Regions from separate parts of the Homo sapiens genome. Here region 1 is linked to region 2. Evidence: promoter capture Hi-C in human tissues and cell types (Jung and others, 2019). All regions are on one chromosome and are shown on one strand. The core of a region is centred on a gene start or on the middle of the fragment in contact, and the rest is flanking DNA. Distances in the headings are between cores, read along the strand shown.

Evidence for each region. Contacts are between HindIII fragments. The study calls those that stand out against the background at their distance.
Region 1: a contact is called between a fragment that was not itself captured here and the fragment with the promoter of CRYGS in region 2, in 1 of the 25 tissues and cell types used here (aorta).

What each region holds. Positions count from the first base shown.
Region 1 is chr3:186,290,039-186,292,987 of GRCh38, reverse strand. All of the region lies in intron 5 of DGKG (diacylglycerol kinase gamma), which reads left to right. Among named protein-coding and RNA genes, the nearest start is that of DGKG, 71 kb to the left of the region's middle. The HindIII fragment of the contact is 3,776 bases long and covers 1-2,949 here.
Region 2 is chr3:186,543,075-186,546,222 of GRCh38, reverse strand. It overlaps CRYGS (crystallin gamma S), which reads left to right and starts at 1,843. Exons shown (of 3, transcript NM_017541.4): 1 at 1,843-1,917. The coding sequence starts at 1,897. TBCCD1 (TBCC domain containing 1) reads left to right here. Exons shown (of 8, transcript NM_018138.5): 8 at 1-156. The HindIII fragment of the contact is 9,271 bases long and covers 1-3,148 here.

The DNA of each region.
Region 1 (2,949 bases), core at 295-2,794, 250 kb after region 2:
ACAGTGCTCTAAAAAATGTGTTTTTAAAAAAGCACAATAAAATCATCCATAATTTTACCAATGCAATTACATGTGTGTGTGTGTAATCTCCTTGTAGATTTTTCTATAATTTTTTTACAGAATTGGGATCAGACTGTATTGTATAGATAATCTGGGACCGAGTTTCTTCTTTTTTTTTTTGAGATGGAGTCTCGCTCTGTTGCCCAGGCTGGAGTGCAGTGGCACGATCGCAGTTCACTGCAACCTCTGCCTCCCGACCTCTGCCTCCCGCGTTCAAGTGATTCTCCTGCCTCAGCCTCCTGGGTAGCTGGGATTACAGGCACCCGCCACCACGCCCAGCTAATTTTTGTATTTTTAGTAGAGACAGTGTTTCACCATGTTGGCCAGGCTGGTCTCCAACTCCTGACCTCAGGTGATCCACCCACCTCGGCCTCCCAAAGTGCTGGGATTACAGGTATGAGCCACCGTGCCCGGCCTTGGGACCCAGTTTTGTTCTTCACTTAGTTAAGTCATTTACTTGAATGATTTCTGTAATTCAAGACTTTGGGTAAACATCAGTTTTAATGCAATCCCCTCTTTAAACAGATGAGAAAACTGAGGTTGAGTGTGGTGGAGTAAGCCTGCTTGTGTTAAATCACACACACATACTTTGTGTGTTAAATCACACACAACTGAACACAAACTCAGCGGTGGAATCACGGTCTTCTGCTGCCTGGTCTGGTGCTCTTCCCACTATGCCACACTGCCCCACTGAAAGGGAACAAGTAACACAGATACCAAGGGAGAAAGTGGAACAAGTCAGGTCTGCCCAAGAGCCGTCACATGAAAGGGTTTAGGACATGGCACCAGGACAGGACCTCTGTGATCCGGAAGAGGGTGTTGGCATTTTTTACTGGTGGTACCTGAGGGTCGTACTCAGATGGCCATAGGTCAGGGCTATTTCATATAAAGCAGAATGAAGAGGAAGGACACTAATGAGACAGTGTCAGTGCCTCTCAGCCTTCCTGGACCCCTGCATCTCTATGACAGGAGTGAGCAGTAGACTTCAGTGAAAACTAGAGAAATGGTTCAAGATCCAAGGATTGAGTTGTAAATTGGCAAAAAATTGCATGTTTTAAGTGTATAATTAATAAGTTTTGACACACGTATATACCTGTAAAACTAGTACCACAATTAATATGATGAACATACCCATCATCTCTAAAAGTTTTCTTTGTAATCCCTTTTCTCCACCCTCCTTACCCGCCCACCCTTCATCCCCATACAACTACTGATCTGCTTTCTGCCATATATATTAAATTACATTGTCTAGATTTTATATAAATGTTATCATACACTCTCTACTCTTTTGGGTCTGCCTTTTTTCACTCCATGTAATAATTTTGAGATTTATCCATTTTGTATATATCAATAGTTCACATATTTTAGTTGCTGATTAGTGTTTTAATACATAGATATTCCACAATTTGTTCGTCTGTTAACCTACTGATGGACATCTAGATTGCTTCCAATTTATAATTATCATAAATAAAAATGTTATAAATATTCTTGTGCTTTAATGATGTTGAGTATCTTTTCATGTACTTAATTGTTTATTTGGTCTTATTTAATTTCTTTTTACATATTATGAGCCTCAATTTGCTAAAATATTAAGAACGTTTGCCTCTGTGTTCATAAGGGATATTGATTTGCATGTTCATGTCTTATCATGTCATTGTCTGTTTTTGGCTTTAGAGTAATGCTGGCCTCACCAAAAGGGTTGCGTAGGATTCCCTCCTCTTAAATTTTCTGGAAGAATTTGTATAGAATTTATGGTGCCTCTTCACTAAATGTTGAGTACTGGATTTTCACATTCCTACAAAGTCCTGAGCTTTGTTTTTAGGTACAGTTAGGTTACTTGGAAACAGTCTGATCTTTTTGGATCTATCTTTTAAGCTTCACTGGACAGGACCAGAAAGGCATTTACTCACTACTGAGAAAAAATGTTTCTGAATACTCTATCAATGATTCACGAATTATGGGGGGTTTCTACCCTGGTTGGTGGGAATAGGCATTACTCCTGGTTCTCTCCAGGGATTATTCGCTCTAATCCTAGTTCTTTCCCCAGCCTTAGCCTTAGGTGTTTTCCTTCCACAAGTGTGCTAATTACTACTCAGCTGAATAATTGAAGGGAACTCTCTGCTGTTACTCAAAGGGGACCTTCTACACACATTCAGAGCTAGCTCTCTGTGCATACCCTCCTCTCCAGTGCCTGCTCTGTGAATCCTAGCCACTGTGGGCTCCAGATTCCAGCTTCACCTCCACTCAGAGAGACTTCCAGGGTTGGCCTGGCTTCCCCTTCTCTGTGCTGCGGCCTAGAAGCTCTTTCCAAACAGTCTGATGTGGCAGTTGTAGGAGTCATCTCATCTTCTCAGAGATCAGTGTTTGGTCCTCCCTGATAATATAATGTCCTATGAACCATTGTTTCATACATTTTGTCCAGTTTTGTCACTGTTTTAGGTGAGAGGGTAAATCTGGTCTCTGTTAGCCCATTTTAGTCAAGGTAGAAGTCACTGATAGAGTTTTAATTGATGAATAATATGAGGACCTAGCAATAACTTTGGGTGTAATGCACTACACAGTACAAAGGCCTGTTCCCATGTTTTCCTCCAGTGACAATCTTAATACTTCATTAAATATGTAATTTTATTACAACCTCCCCTATCTCACTATCCCTGTCTTTATCTCATCCTATTGTATTTTCATCTCTACTTGCCAAACCCTGAGGCTTTCTGCTTTTGTATAATAGAGGTGATATCTTCTTGCATCCCGCTAAGGGCCTTGTCCAGTAGAAAATTACTTTTGAAAATCTGGTCTTCTGAGACCTCAGGATGAAGCTTTCTTTCCTTACTTTGCAGCCACGTTTCCTAGGCTCCATCTTGGTTTCTTCATGAGGCCCTCTGTAATATA
Region 2 (3,148 bases), core at 594-3,093:
TAATTGGAAAGGAAGTATGATTTGTTGGTATATAGACATAGAAATAGTTTTATACTATATTTTAGTCCTTAAAGTATGGAACTTAATGAAATTGTTTAAAAAAATCTTTATTTTTCACTTCCTGCTTCAAATTTTCAATAAACAAACTCTAAAGAATAATTTCCTTTTTTTGTAAAAGATAAATCTTTAGTTTTAATTTTAGAAAAGGTTTCCAGTGTCATTTCTCAAAATAACTAGTAAAGTTTACATTTACTTGGGAAAACCTTCTTTCAGATAAATGAGTGAAATTACCAAATTACCAAATGAGTGAAATGAATCAGATTGCTGATAAACATTGGTTCATATGCTCTCTGGCCATTTAATTAGTATTTCTATCAAAAAACTCTTTTGTATTTCTAAAGTAAAAATTAACCCTCAGAATGTTTAATTCTAATTGAAGTTTACATGGTTTTTATTTTAAGATGAAATTCAAGGAGCAGACCATTACCAAATAAACACTGGAGTAATAGAAATATATTTTAGATATTGCTATTTGTTAATGAAATAAATGGTACTCAGATACTTTTTTTAAAGTTTTAAAGTTTTATAAAATTTTATAAAATTCAGAAAACCAAGCATATAGCTTAATATTTTCTCAATAATCTTTATATTAAGGCACATTTGCCATTTTCTGAATTGACCATAATACATCCCATTTATTAAAATATTTGTTAGTTTTGTTAACAGAAAGATGAGGAAGTTTGACTTTTGAGAATATACTTGATTTTGAGAATATACTTGATCAGTTAAAGTTAAAAATGGAGAAAAGTTAATTTATTGGGTTTTTTTGTATTTACATAAGATGCAATCTCATTCCTAAAGTCAGAGGTGTATTAGGGCCAAAAAATGTTCTCCGATCATGTTCCAATGTTGTATTGTGGGCAAAGAAGACCACCTAGCCAGTAGCTTGTTGTGTTTAGTTAGCTAACCCTTGGCAAATTCAGGAGTCCCACAGTCACTTTTCTACATACGGTGGCACCCTTCTTATGGATTAGAGCTCTTTTTTTAAAAAAAATTGTGTTTTGAAAAAAATTAAATAATAGTTGCAAGAATAAGTCAGTGAACTTTAACATACCCTTTATCTAGATTCCATTCACCAGTTGTTAACATTTTGCTACATTCTCTTTACCACTCAACATGATAGTATTGTTTTATTTTTGCTCAACAATTTGAGAATAGGTTGCAGACATCTTGAACCTTTCTTCTAAATGGTAGCATACATGTCCTGGAAACAGACATACTCTTACCTAGTCATAGTACAATGATCAAATTCAAGAAGTTAAACTTTGGTACAATAGTATTATCTAATTTACAGTCCATATTAAAATGTTTTCTGATTGTCCCAGCAGTGTCTTTATAGTGACTTTTTTCCCCAAACACAAGATCATGCATTGCATTTAGTTGTCATGTAAGTTTTGTTGCGTTTAGAACATGTCACTTCTGTCCAGAAATAGAGGTAGTCTTCTGACTCTTACCTCTCACAAGCTTTGTTGAAGAAAAAGGACATTAGGAATTTCAAAGAGGCTGCTTAAAAAAAAAAAGAGAGACTCTTTTGTTCTTAATTTTTACAACTTTGTCTGGGTTTTGGTTTCTTGACTCAGCAAAGTCTGTAATGCAGCCCTGCTTGGTAAGCATTAAAGGCGGTACTGAAGCTTTCCTTTATTTTATAATCCCAGTTGTTTTTTCTAGAAACCATCAATAGCGTCTAAATGACTGACTCAATTTTTGGATCCTATTCTCATGACTAAGCAAATGTTTGACTGAAACCAGCCCATATAAATGTCACTGTGCCTCTAACTCTCTGTAGCCATTCCTGAATTTCTTTCAGCACTGGGAAAACCAGTCTATGCACCAAAAATGTCTAAAACTGGAACCAAGGTAAGTAGTCATATTGATTTTTAGCCTACCCGCTTTTCACCTAATGATGCATTCAACACACAGAAAAGCTTTTGCTTCTTTGCCTAGAGGTGAGTATGATAGTGGTTAGAGAACTGGGATTGAGAGAGAAGATTAAGAAATGCTTATTATATTTTCCACCCTTAACAGAATTACCGAACACTTTATTAAGGGTTTATCTTTATGTATGGTGCTATGTTAAATACTATACAGGTAATTTATAAATATCATTATTATTTCTGCCTTCTAGCAACTAATATTCTATGCAACTGATATTCTCCATAGGAATAAGGCATGCTAATGGGGATTATATTGAGCAGAAAACTTTTAATAATCAATTAAAATTTTGTTTTCTGAAATTTAGCCTCAACCATTTGTGTTCTAAAAGGCCAAAGTGGATGGGCCAATCAGGTGAATAAAGTCCTACATCTCTCTTCCATTCAAGCAATTATTTTTACTCGTTCCTCAAATAAAGTGCTCCCTTACAGTCAGAAAATTGCCTCTAAAATATTTAACTCACAATTACTGGATTGGAAATTATTCTTTCAGGTAGGGCTTTGGGAATGAGGGAATATGCTTTCATTTTCTTTTTTGCGCTTCCACTGATGAGACAAAACTGCTGCCTGATTTTTACCCCCAGCTATTTGAAAATTTTCAAACCCATTGAATCCTCAAAGAATGGCAAAGAAATGTTGAATGAATATTTGTATATCTTTCACTTATATTCTCCAGTTGTTGACATTTTGCCATATTTGGTCTCTCCTATTTCCATCTCTCTTTATTAAACCATTTGAAAATTAGTAGCAGATTTTATTATACTTTTGCCTTAAGTATTTAGGCATGTATCTCCTAAAAACAAGGGCATTTCCCTGTATAAACACTGTATCACTAGCATGTCCCCAAGAGTTATCATAAATATAATAGCTAATATTGAGACCATATTCAAATCTCCCCTGATTGTCCCCAGAAAAGTGCTTCATGGTGGACTTTTCCCCTAATACAGGATCCAGTGAAAAACATGTATTGTAATTGGTTGTCATGTCTCTTTATTCTCTTTAGTTTTTTTTAGCCTCTCTAAAAATGTCCCTCTACCCTTTTTGTTGTTGTTCTTGAGACATTTTTCAAAGCCTAGGTTAGATGTCTTTTAGAAAGTCTTGCAATCTAGATTTGTCTAATTGTTTCCTCATGTTTAGATTCAGAATAAATATATTTG